Linked DNA regions of Homo sapiens: all the other regions are linked to region 3. The links are contacts of gene promoters, found by promoter capture Hi-C in blood cells and fetal thymus (Javierre and others, 2016). All regions are on one chromosome and are shown on one strand. The core of a region is centred on a gene start or on the middle of the fragment in contact, and the rest is flanking DNA. Distances in the headings are between cores, read along the strand shown.

Region 1 (4,182 bases), core at 421-2,920, 270 kb after region 3:
GTGACAGAGACCCTGTCTAAAAAACCAAAAACCGAACTCCAAACTTGGAAGTCAACTGTTGTTTAATTTAAAGAACACTTACAGAAAGCTTGTCTGGGTTGATCCAGTTGTTTTCAGGAAACTGCACATCAAACTTTATGTAAAGATCACCTTTTTCAAAGGGATTACGATACTGCGGCATCCCTTCACCTCGAACTACACGAACACACCCTATTATTTAAGAGGAAATGATTAATAATTTTACCCAAAAGAGGTGTTCAATTTTTTTTAGAGTTATGCAGTATAAAAAAATTACAAATTGTAATTTTTTTCAAAAATACTTGAAAACCAGAATCGGACAAAATCAAGATTTACCTGGTTCAATTACTTTGCCAGGGGGGTATTTCACCACAATCTGACGTCCATCAAGGTGCTTAAATGTGAACTGAAATCCACATAGAGCTTCAACAAGTCCTATTTTATATGTCATGTGCAAATCATTCCCATCTCTCTGAAATACCTATAAATAAAGCACAAAAGAAATACATTTTCTTAAAAATTATGGAGGTACACCCTGCAGCATTATGTTCCTTGACTTAATTTCAAAACCTTATTTCTACCACTCACTGCAAATCCAAAGTGCCACTGTCCCTAGTGCCCTAAACCGCATTAGGAAAGCTAGCTATTCCCAAGTAGTATGTGAGAAACTTCCATGAGGAAGGTGTACTGGAACTGGTAAACAATGGCATATATAAGAGCAACAGAACTGAGGCCCTCAAAACAGTGCCAGGTATATTCTGCAACTATTGCCCACTTTCAGACTCTGCCTCTGGTGAAAAAGGTACAGAATGCCCAGAGGGCTCCTACAGAACAGGCTCACCCTGGAGTGCTCCCCAGACATGATCGTAACAGGGAAGGGGGGAGGGTCCAAGATCAACATAAAACCCAACATCAACCAGTTAACACCCAGCCAGCAAAGTCAAGTGGCTCAATTCCGTGCTTCACACACATACCAACAAGTCTCACATCTCACTAAAATGCAAAACTGGCTCATTCAATATTACACTATAAGCCTATGGACTAGGTAATGCAAAAGGTATTGAGAATAAGCACAAAGAATGTTTCTGAGCCTTCAATGTGTAGGAAAAATACATCCAACTTCACACGCCCAACCTGCAATTTTTGCTTAGATTTTACAATGGTCACTCTTCTTGTAAAGAACAATCCTGGCCGGTTCACTTATAGAAAATCTGGTAGACAGGTTCTTTTCCTATGTTACTCTCCTAAATTTACTCATTAAACAAAGTTAAACCATTACCTTAACCAATGATTCTCTAAGTGTGGTTCTGGACCAGCAGCTTCAGGAAACTTGTTAGGAACACATATTCTTGGGCCCCACTTCCATTCCTGCCAGAAACAAGGCAGGCAAGATCCAGCATCTGTAGTCCTAACAAGCCCTCCAGGCAATTCTTGTGTGTGTGCTAAAGTTTGAGATCCAAGAAGGTATGTTATGTATGCACATATATTCAAGTGTTCCTCACAATGGGACCAATAGTTTTTTTAATGCAGGATTTTTCAACGCATTAAAAATGCTAAGTAGGCCAGGTGCAGTGGCTCACACCTGTAATCCCAGCACTTTGGGAGGCCAAGGCAGGCGGATCACAAGGTCAGGAGTTCAAGACCAGCCTGGCCAATATGGTGAAACCCCATCTCTACTAAAAATACAAAAATTAGCCAGGTGTGGTGGCACGCGCCTGTAGTCCCAGCTACTTAGGAGGCTGCGGCAGGAGAATCACTTGAACCTGGGAGGCGGAGGCTGCAGTGAACCAAGATCACACCACTGCACTCCAGCCTGGGCGACACAGCGAGACTCCATCTCAATAAGAAAAAAATAAAAAAATTTAAAAAAGCTAAATATAGGGTCAGAGCTTTGGGAGGCCAGTTCAAAACAGCAACATAGGGAGACAAAAAATTAAAACATAAACTAGGCTAGTTGAGGCAGGACGATCCCTTGAGCCCAGGATTTGGAGCCTGCAGGGGCAGTCCCTCCTCATTAATGATCCAGCCACTGCACTCCAGCCTGGGAGACAGAAGGACATCCTGTCTCTTAAACATAATAATAATAAATTTAAAATAAATGCTAAGTATACTGTAAAATGCCAGTGTTCTAAGAACCATCTTACCAAATATCCTTTGTTAAAGTCATACTATTTTAGGATGCATGCAGTGGCTCATGCCTATAATCCCAGCACTTTGGGAGGCTGAGGCAGGTGGATCACCTGAGGTCCTGGTCATCATGGCGAAATTCTGTCTCTACTAAAAATACAAAAACTAGCTGGGTGTGGTGGCATGAGCCTGTAGTCCCAGCTACTTGGGAGGCTGAGGCAGGAGAATCACTTGAACCCGGGAGGTGGAGGTTGCAGTGAACAGAGATCGCGCCACTGCACTCCAGCCTGGGTGACAGAGTGAGACCCCATTTCAAAAATAAAAACAAAAATAAAAAGTGGGGCAGGGCACGGTGGCTCACACCTATAATCCTAGCACTTTGGGAGGCCGAGGTAGGCAGATCACTTGAGGTCAGGAGTTTGAGACCAGCCTGGGCAACATGATGAAACCCCATCTCTACTAAAAATACAATTGCGCCACTACACTCCAGTCTGGGTGACAGGGCAAGACTGTCTCAAAAAAAAAAAAAAGAAAAGGGAACAGGAAGAGATACACATCACGTTCTTGTACAGGAGAGTTCAACTGAAAGTGATTTCAATAAAAAATGATTATGATTATCAGGATGGTTGTTGCAGCAGAGCGGGGAAGCTAAACAATTTGATGTTAAAAGTTTAAACAGAATAAACAAGCAAGGATGCCAGAGAGTTTCTGAAAAACAAGATTAATGAGGAGGGACCACCAAGCACTAGACCAGAAAACACTTAGAAGTCATATTTCTGAATAACAAAAGTACAGGTTATAGAGGCGTGACTAACATCACCAGGTTCTGTGGTTTGATGCTGTACAAGTGCACTATGGTAACCAGACCACCGAGACACACAAACAGGCACACTGACAAGTGACATGGCAGGATGATGACTATAGATGATACAGCACTCCCAAGAAGGAACGAGACAAACTTCCATTCTAACCTTTACCATCTTCTATTTTCTACTTTAGACAACTAGCTACATCTGCCTTCTGTTGAAAATTCCATGCCAATTCCACTGCTGCCAACAATTTTCAGAGATGAGTTACTTCCCAACACCTCCCCACAGGCCCCAAGAAAGAAGCTTATTCATAATCTCATTTGACTCTTTAATATCCAAAAAGTCCAGGGAAGCCAAAGCTAGTAAACGGGGCCCAGACCTTAAGTCCTTTGCCTCCAAATCCAATGATCTACTTTTAAAAACCCAATTTAATTATGCAGCAACATTAAAAACTAAACTTAGGGATAAAAAAGGTTTTACCATCAGTTTGACATGCCTCAAACCAAAAAAAAGTCATCCTTCCTCTGCAAATAAGCATTCCTTCTTCACTTCCTATCATGCTGCTGCACTGCCAGACATCATTTGACAACGAACCCCAAACGACTCCAAGGATTCTATCAATGAAAATGCCCAGGCACTGTCTGTACCATTTTACAACACAGTCTAACCTCCAAGCAGAATTTCCAATTATTTAGCTGTCTTGCTAGCTTTCTCCCTCATATTCCTGGTATGGTGGTGTGCACAGCAGCAAGACTGAAGGAACAAGGAAGTAGCTAAAATGTTAACAAATAGCAAATCTTGTAAATATTTCATTCTACAAGACCCAAAGGCAGAATTCTAAAAACTACTCTTACTTTTTGACAACCGAGGAGACGTTTGCTATCTGTAGGGTTGGCAATTTCCACAAAAAGCCAAAATACATAATTTGTAGCTTTGCTGAGTCATGAAAGCTGACTAGCATGCCCTGATTGTCCAGGAGATCAAGTCTGACCTTGTGAGGGATTACTACCAAATTCCTAAAACCTGCATCTCAATATGGCTTTGTTGTTCTCTATTGGATTCTTAAAGTGATTTTTAAAATTTACTCTATTTGAAGAAATGATCACCACAGAAGGACGATCTCCTTCTTTATCAAATATAACCTTTAAATTATAAATGATAATCAGCTTGCCCACCTTTTTAGAATTAAAAAGAATAACCTTTCACTGAACATAATACAAATTTACCA
Region 2 (4,208 bases), core at 156-2,655, 330 kb after region 3:
CTCACTGCAAGCTCCACCTCCCAGGTTCACGCCATTCTCTTACCTCAGCCTCCTGAGTAGCTGGGACTACAGGCACCTGCTACCACACCCTGCTAATTTTGTTTTTGTATTTTTAGTAGAGATGGGGTTTCACCGGGTTAGCCAGGATGGTCTCGATCTCCTGACCTTGTGATCTGCCCGCCTTGGCCTCCCAAAGTGCTGGGATTATAGGCATGCGCCATTGCACTCGGCCAGGATATTTTTTCTTTATAATTTACACTTAATTTAAAACAAGCCTTGGCAAATTAGCAAATGTTCTATTGATTTATTATTAGTCATTTGTTTGTTTGTTTTTGAGACAAAATCTTGCTCTGTAGCCCAGGCTGGAGTGCAGTGGCACAATCTCAGCTCACTGTAACCTCTGCCTCCCAGGTTCAAGCGATTCTCCTGCCTCAGTCTCCGAGTAGCTGGGATTACAAGCATGCACCACCACACCTGGCTAATTTTGTATTTTCAGTAGAGATGGGGTTTCACCATGTTGGTCAGGCTAGTCTTGAACTCCTGACCTCAAGCAATCCATCCTCCTCAGCCTCCCAAAGTGCTGGGATTACAAGTGTGAGCCACCATGCCCGGCCTTTATTATTAGTCTTTTTTTTTTTTTTTTTTTTTTGAGATGGGAGTCTTCTGTTGCACAGGCTAGAGTGCAGTGGCGCGATCTTGGCTTACTGCAACCTCTGCCTCCTGGGTTCAAGCAATTCTCCTGCCTAAGCCTCCTGAGTAGCCGGGATTACAGGCACCTGCCACTGCGCCTGGCTAATTTTTGTATTTTTAGTAGAGATGTGGTTTCACTATGTTGGCCAGGCTGGTCTTGAACTCCTGACCTCATGATCCATCGCCTTGGCTTCCCAAAGTGCTGGGATTATTATTAGTCTTTTTTAGCATACCTTAAACTTGCAGTTGCTTCACAATCATTTTTGTTGTTCTTCAAGAAATGATAAAAATAAGGGATCCTAGATTCCACGTTCTGCTTTTTAAAAATAAAATAATGAATAAAGCGCCAAAGCCTAGAAGACAATGGGATTGTAAATAGCAAACATTAGGACCATGTGACCTTGAACCATTTGAGAGGAATAACATGGCTCTTCTCATTAAAATTACAAAATAGGCTGGGTGCAGTCGCTCACGCCTGTAATCCTGGCTCTTTAGGAGGCCAAGGCAGGAGAATCACTTGAGACCAGGAGTTTGAGATCAGCCTGGGCAACATAGCAAGACCTCCTCTTTACAAAAATTAACAATAATAAAATTTAGAAGGCTGGACATGATGGCTCATGCCTGTAATCCCACACTTTGGGAGGCCAAGGTGGGTGGATCACTTGAGCCCAGGAATTCAAGACCAGCCTGGGCAAAATGGTTAAACCCCATCTCTATTTATTTATTTGAGACGCAGTTTTGCTGTTGTCACCCAGGCTGGAGTGCAATGGCATGATCTCGGCTTGCTGCAACCTCCGCCTCCCGGGTTCAAGTGATTCTCCTGCCTCAGCCTCCCGAGTAGCTTGGAGTACAGGCGCCTGTCACCACACTTGGCTAATTTCTGTATTTTTAGTAGAGACAGGATTTTACCATGTTGGCCAGGCTGGTCCTGAACTCCTGACTTCAGGAGATCCACTCGCCTTGGCCTCCCAAAGTGCTGGGATTACAGGCGTGAACCACCCTGCCCGGCTCTCTATTTATGTAAAAAAAAAAAAATTCTTGTTTTACAATTTTTTTTTTGAGACAGCATCTTGCTCTGTCTCCCAAGCTAGAATGCAATGGTGCTGTCTCAGCTTACTGCAACCTCTGCCTCCTGGGTTCAGGAGATTCTCCTGCCTCAGCCTCCTGAGTAGCTGGTACTAAAGGTGCGTGCCACCACACCCAGCTAATTTTTGTACTTTTTTGGTACAGACGGGGTTTCACTATGTTGGCCAGGCTGGTCTTGAACTCCTGACCTTGTGATCCGCCCACCTCAGCCTCCCAAAGTGCTGGGATTACAGGCGTGAGCCACCGTGTCCGGCCAATTTTTTTTTTTTTTTTTGAGACAAGGTCTCAGTTTGTTGTCCAGGCTAGAGTACAGTGGTGTGATCATGGCTCACTGTAACCTCCACCTCCTGGTTCAAGCGATTCTCATGCCTCAGCCTCCTAAGTAGCTGGGATTACAGGCGCCCACCACCACACCTGACTAATTTTTGTATTTTTGTAGAGATGAGGTTTCACCATGTTGGCCAGGCTGGTCTTGAACTCCTGACCTCAAGTGATCTACCTGCCTTGTCCTCCCAAAGTGCTGGGATTACAGGTATGAGCTACTGTACCTGGCCTATTTTAAAATTATTTTTTTAAAAAAGAAGGAAAATACTAGGTGTGGCCCATATAGGGTGAGATGGAGGTTAAGCTCCACTTCCTGGCGGGGAGCATCAACATGCATTCTTCTTCGAGGAAGATTTGTCTCTTCTATTTATTAATCTTTTCCGTCATAAATAAATTATGATCTTCTGGGACGCAGTGTATGGACGCAAGTGTATTTATGTTATATTTTAGGTTATAGTCCAGTACTATCATTATTTTGTTGCTCAGATTATTCCAGCTTCGGCTGTTGGAGTTCTTTCCGGTTGGCCCTGGGGTCCCTGTGACCTGCCCACACGCCCCGATCTTTTTTGTTTTTTAAGCTCTTTTAAACTTTCTGGCATTGCAAGATGCTCCAGGCTTATCTTGTATTTGCCTTGCTCTACTTCTAGCATCAACCATTTCTCCAAGGAGCCCTGGTTCCTTTCATTGGAGAACACTGTTTAGCAAACAAGACTTGATATTGGCTGTGGTCATCACTACTGAGGCCCGCTCAGTGGGCAGAGCTGGGAAAAATGTACATGCATACCAACCCATGCATGCACACAAATCTATGATTATTTCTGTATCTAGGTGTTTGTGTCTATATTAAGCTAAAAATGAGCTCAGACTCATGTTAACCATCCTGTCTACTGTGTTCCTGTACAACAAGGACGTGAGCTTCCTATTTTCCAACATGGTCAAGGAAAGCAGTGTCCTGGTTCATCAACTCTTCTAGACAAATGAGTTACCAGATGTGACTTTTGTGTATGATCAATTTGCCAATAATTAAACTATAACGTTAAAATAATTTCTTTTATTTATTTATTTTTTTGAGACAGAGTCTCACTCTGTCGCCCAGGCTAGAGTGTGGTGGCTCGATCTTGGCCCACTGCAACCTCCGCCTCCCAGATTCAAGGGATTCTCCTGCCTCAGCCTCCCAAGTAGCTGAGATTACAGGCGCACGCCACCATGCCCGGCCAATTTTTGTATTTTTAGTAGAGACGAGGTTTCACCATGTTGGCCAGGCTGGTCTCAAACTCCTGACCTCAGGTGATCCGCCAGCCTTGGCCTCCCAAAGTGCTGGGATTACAGGCGTGAACCGCCACACCTGGCCTAAAATGATTTCTATGAAAATAGCAAACCTTTATATAGCACCTATTATGTGCCCAGAATGTATATTTATTCACTCATATAATCTTTGCAATCTTTCAAGTAGGTACTGTTATTATTCCAGTTTTACAGCTGAGGAAACTGAGATACAGAGAGGTTAATGTGCCTGCTATAGTTATGCAGCAAGTGGCAGAGCAGCCTGATGTCAGAGTCCACTCACTCCGCCTCCTTGGCAAGCTTCGTCTTTCTTTGAGGATTCAGGAGACACCTCAGAGTCATGATTCTGCGTATCAATTCTAAGTATTCTGCAGATGCATGACCAAGGTTATGGTTTATTGAACATCAAGTAACCAAGAGTTTTACTTTCTTTTTTGTTATATGGAGTTGTCATATTTTCCACAACGGGCACCTATTAATTTTATATTAAGAAAAAATGTAAACATTATACACACATTTAGAATAACAGGAGCTGTCTACTCCTCCCCACCTAGAGGTTCTCCCTCTATTTCCAATACTGGAAGATCAGGGTTTAATTTTATGAAGGTAGGGCAGGGCATGGGAGGTTCACTCGTGTAACTCCAGCACTTTGGGAGGTTGAGACAGGAGGATTGCATGAGCCCAGCAGTTCAGGACCAGCCCGAACAACATAGGGAGATCCTATCTCTACAAAAAAATGTGAAAAATTAGCTGGGTATGGTAGCAGGCGCCTGTGGTCCCAGCTACTTGGGATGCTGAGGCAGGAGGATTGTTGGAGCCAGGAG
Region 3 (4,017 bases), core at 900-3,399:
AACCAAAGCTCAAAACGTGCCTACTACTTAGCAATAAGCACTTAATAAGTGCTATAATTATTATTCAGTTTAGATACAAATAATTATCTCCACTTATGTTAGAAACCTATTGTGGTTCAACCTCCCTGCTTATATGCTGTAGATGTAATCTGACAGTACAATGTAAACCAAATGTAACGCTCATTTCTTCAAACAAAGGTACAGAATATCACGTTAATGAAAGAACTATTTTAAAAATGATGACATGGCATACATTGACAACTGAAGTAGAGAGAAATAAGGATGATGAGGGCATGACAACTTCAAAATATAATTTGAACACCAAACGGCTCTAACTTCATTTCCAATACATATCCCCAAGAATCCTCTGATGGAGCACACTGAACGTTTTGGCTTCATCTATTAGCAATACCTTTTCTTTCCACCTGGAGAATTTCTTTCCACCCTCTTTATAGTCTCAGTTCACGTTACTTCCTGTAGTCCTTCCCAAAATCCCCAGGCAAAACTATCCCTCCATGACCCCAAAGCACTGAGTTGACAATGTTAGTAAAGCAATCCACACACTGTATTACAGTTAAGTTCTACAAGCGTGTCTCCCCCAGTAGCCTCTTAAGTTCGACATTGGTACCCAGGGCCACAGTCCGTGACACTGAAGGCACACAAGATGTTTGATGAATTGAAGTGGATTCTGGAATTTTAGGGCTGGGAAGGGCCAAAGGGGCCGCCAACACTTGCTTTCGGATGCAAAAGTGCGACACCAAGAAGACTAAGCGAGCTGCCTAAATTATAGACAGTGACTGTGAAAGAACGAATACTCAAGTTTCCTTTCCCAATAAAATTCATGAGGACAAGACTGTGTGTCTGGCTGATTGCTCCCAACTGGTTCACCCAACAAAGAATCGGAGTGTGTAATACATCCTCAATTAAGTGTTTTCCATTACAAAACAATATAAATGTCAATCCATAAACGCTGGAAACACACAAATCCTAAAGTTAAATTTTGCGCCGGTCTTGTATCAATTCCCAATTATAAAAATCCTGAGAAACAGGCAAAATCACCTTGTACGGCAACACGTTATATGAAAATAGTATTTGTAAAACACTTAATCCTTTCTGGCATTAAGACATTTAAAGTGAAATCTGTTTCCAGGCTTACAGATTTACAGAAGCCTATCTACACAGAGTGAGTAAGGTAATTAAAGCGGACATACAGTATATACTCAAAAAATTTATTTACACAGTGCAGGCTATGTTAAACGCTAATAAAATGCAAGTGACAACTTGCCTTTGTGGGAACCAGACACAAAGATTCACATTTTGAGGAAGTTCAAGTTTACCGGCCAACAGCCACACCACGATTTGCTGCCGTCATAGACGGGCCCTAAGGAGAAGTACTGCTTCCAGCAAGTCAAATACTTGGATTTTATCAATGGCGAGACAAAAGAGGCAAGGTGCGCCCAATGCACAAATGCTAAAGTAAACAATCAGTCTCCTTTGCGACCGTCAGGATTAGAAGACAGCCTGAGTCCTTCCAGGAAATTCATGTAAGCAGGTCCCCAGAACTCGCTGACAAACACTGCAGCCGAAGGCGGGTATGAGGCCAAGAAAGGCCAAGGAATCACTGCGACCCCTCCAGGAGGGCGTGGGGACGGCCGAGCACAACTAGGCACAAAGGTAGAAACGCAACATCTGGGCGGGTCCCGGCGCCACCTCCGAGTCTCAGGGCCTCCACGCGCCCCGGGGGCCAGACGCTCAGACCTAGGACTACCGGTCCCCTCGTGGTAGGCAGGTGACCGATTCCACTTAAAGGAGGCCGCAGGCCTTCATGGACCCCAAAGCCTACATGCCAAGTCAACCCCACAGAGAGGCCGCCCCGTCTCTCAGCAACGGCCGCAGCCAAGAGCCGCCGCCCACCCCGGCCCGGATCAGCCTGCCCGCGGCCTTCCTCCTGCTGTCCCCTATCCCGCAGGCCAAATCGGGCTGGTCTTAATCCCGAACGGTCTGTGGGGCCCCTTCTCCACTCGCTGGAGTGCGGGGCGGTGGGAGAGAGCAGGGGCTACAAGGAGGGTCGACCCAGGTGCCACTGCCCCCTCAGCACTCACCATGGCGACTCCCCAGAGCCTGCAGCAAGCAGCACCCGCCCCGCGCGTAGCCTCCCGCGGTCATGTGACGCTGCGGCCCCTCCAAGCCCCGCCCTCTCTAGCCCCGCCCCCGGGCCCTACAGGCGGCTCATTGATTGGCCTACTTCTAGGAACCCGAGTCTCGCGTGCTTATTGGCCCTGTCACTTAACGCTAGATGGACGGACCTGAGCGCCAGCCAATCTCACCACAGCGTGCGAGAGTGGGCGGAGCAGTGCAGGGCAGTGGGGATCGCCCGGCGGCAGGCAGGAGACAACAGGAGGGAAAGGCAGTGTGTGATGAGTTTGTCAAGAAGGAATGGAAGGAGGGGGAGCCGACAAGTCCACGTTCACCGCATCTGCGTTGGCGATTGCGCTATTGATGCGCATGCGCAAAAGGAAGACCCTGATTGGTTTGTGGGACGGTCTCAACGTCCTGTCCTAACCAATCCAGATGCGCCGGGGGTGGGGCCTGGCTCTCACTGGCCGGTGCAGCCTTTGCGCGCGGGTTTCGTTGACCCGCGGCGTTCACGGGAATTGTTCGCTTTAGTGCCGGCGCCATGGGGTCGGAGCTGATCGGGCGCCTAGCCCCGCGCCTGGGCCTCGCCGAGCCCGACATGCTGAGGTGAGTTCGGCCGCGCAAGACCAGGGCTGGGCTTCCGCCTCGCGGCCCTGGGCCCTCAGGTGAGGCCCGCGCCCTTCCCAGGCGACGGGCGGCGGGGGAGTGACGGGGAGCGCTGGGGCCGGGCGGGGTTTAGGGCCTACTTCAAGAAAAACTTCTCGGCCGTGAGCTTGAATGAGATGGCAAGAAGGGCGATAGCAAACGGCGATGGCACACGTCCCTGGGAACAGCCAGCCCTGTCCGTGGGTAGAAAAATGAGCCAGGGAGAACTTTCCGTTCATTCCGCCAACGCCTACTGCAGTCGGGTTTATAGCGGGGAACCCGACAACGAGGCGCAGACCCCGCTGTCTGTAAGGGCGAGGACTGTGTAGACCTTAACCGGGCAATGCTCCTGAGCCACTGGGCTTGGGGTGGAGCGCGGCCTAGCGGCTGCCTTTAACACAAAGAAACAAACAAAACTCGGAAAAGCAGGCGCCGTTCCCGCTGAGGCCGGATTGATGGCAGATGCTAGGCGAGGAAAGATATGGCAAGAGCAGCCCAGGCAGGGGCGACAGCTCCTGTAAAAGCGTTGAGATGGGAAGCGGGATCCGGGGTTCGAAATAAAGCCATTGTAGCTAAAACGTGGAGCAGTCAGGCGAGGGAAGGCAAGGAAAACAGCACTTAAAAGATTTGAAGACAAACCTGCAGGACTCGGTAGTCATTTAGAACAGTGGTTCTCAAAATGTGGTTCCTGGACCAGCAACAGCCATATCATCTTGTCACTTGTTAGAAATACAAATTCTTGGGTCCCACCTCAAGCCTGCTGATCAGTAACTCGGCCTGGGACCCAGTAATTTGCAAGTCCCCAAGGTGATTTTCGCCTACCATCAAGTTTAAGAACTACTGATTTAAAGGAAATAGGAGGAAAGGAGGAACCCTGGTCTAACCTGCCTGTCTCTGATAGTTCGTGCTTGTTCCAGTAATGGAAGGAGGAAAGAAGGGTAATTTTTTTGTCAAAATTTAACTTCCTTTTGCCTGAAAGCATTTGAGCACAGTGATGTTTGGAGTCAGTGCTGGTTCTGTCTTCCTCTCACCAGAGGATATGACCTTCATTCCCAGCCCCAGATAAACGAGCCACAGGAGTTAGGCTTAGTGTGAAGCTAACCAGGCTGTATTCATTGTTTACCAACGTGTTGAGCAAACTTCTGAATAAGTTGTAGCGAACACACTGCCCTTTTAACCAGGAAAGCAGAGGAGTACTTGCGCCTGTCCCGGGTGAAGTGTGTCGGCCTCTCCGCA

What was found. The method cuts DNA at HindIII sites, captures the fragments that hold promoters and counts their contacts. A CHiCAGO score of 5 or more calls a contact.
Region 1: a fragment that was not itself captured here is called in contact with the fragment with the promoter of VPS35 in region 3 in 10 of 17 cell types (total CD8 T cells, naive CD8 T cells, naive B cells and 7 more); the score reaches 12.2 in total CD8 T cells.
Region 2: a fragment that was not itself captured here is called in contact with the fragment with the promoter of VPS35 in region 3 in 1 of 17 cell types (total B cells); the score reaches 5.5 in total B cells.

The regions. Positions count from the first base shown.
Region 1 is chr16:46,958,921-46,963,102 of GRCh38, forward strand. DNAJA2 (DnaJ heat shock protein family (Hsp40) member A2) reads right to left here. Exons shown (of 9, transcript NM_005880.4): 7 at 355-499; 8 at 83-210. Among named protein-coding and RNA genes, the nearest start is that of DNAJA2, 13 kb to the right of the region's middle. RefSeq lists an enhancer at 1,030-1,696. The HindIII fragment of the contact is 3,169 bases long and covers 87-3,255 here.
Region 2 is chr16:47,020,043-47,024,250 of GRCh38, forward strand. No RefSeq gene overlaps it. Among named protein-coding and RNA genes, the nearest start is that of DNAJA2-DT, 48 kb to the left of the region's middle. The HindIII fragment of the contact is 4,553 bases long and covers 1-3,682 here.
Region 3 is chr16:46,687,029-46,691,045 of GRCh38, forward strand. VPS35 (VPS35 retromer complex component) reads right to left here and starts at 2,150. Exons shown (of 17, transcript NM_018206.6): 1 at 2,103-2,150. The coding sequence starts at 2,105. It overlaps ORC6 (origin recognition complex subunit 6), which reads left to right and starts at 2,631. Exons shown (of 7, transcript NM_014321.4): 1 at 2,631-2,742; 2 at 3,963-4,017. The coding sequence starts at 2,678. RefSeq lists enhancers at 1,621-2,318, 2,319-3,017, 3,255-3,334, 3,385-3,454 and silencers at 1,855-1,904, 2,055-2,294, 2,615-2,914. The HindIII fragment of the contact is 9,040 bases long and covers 1-4,017 here.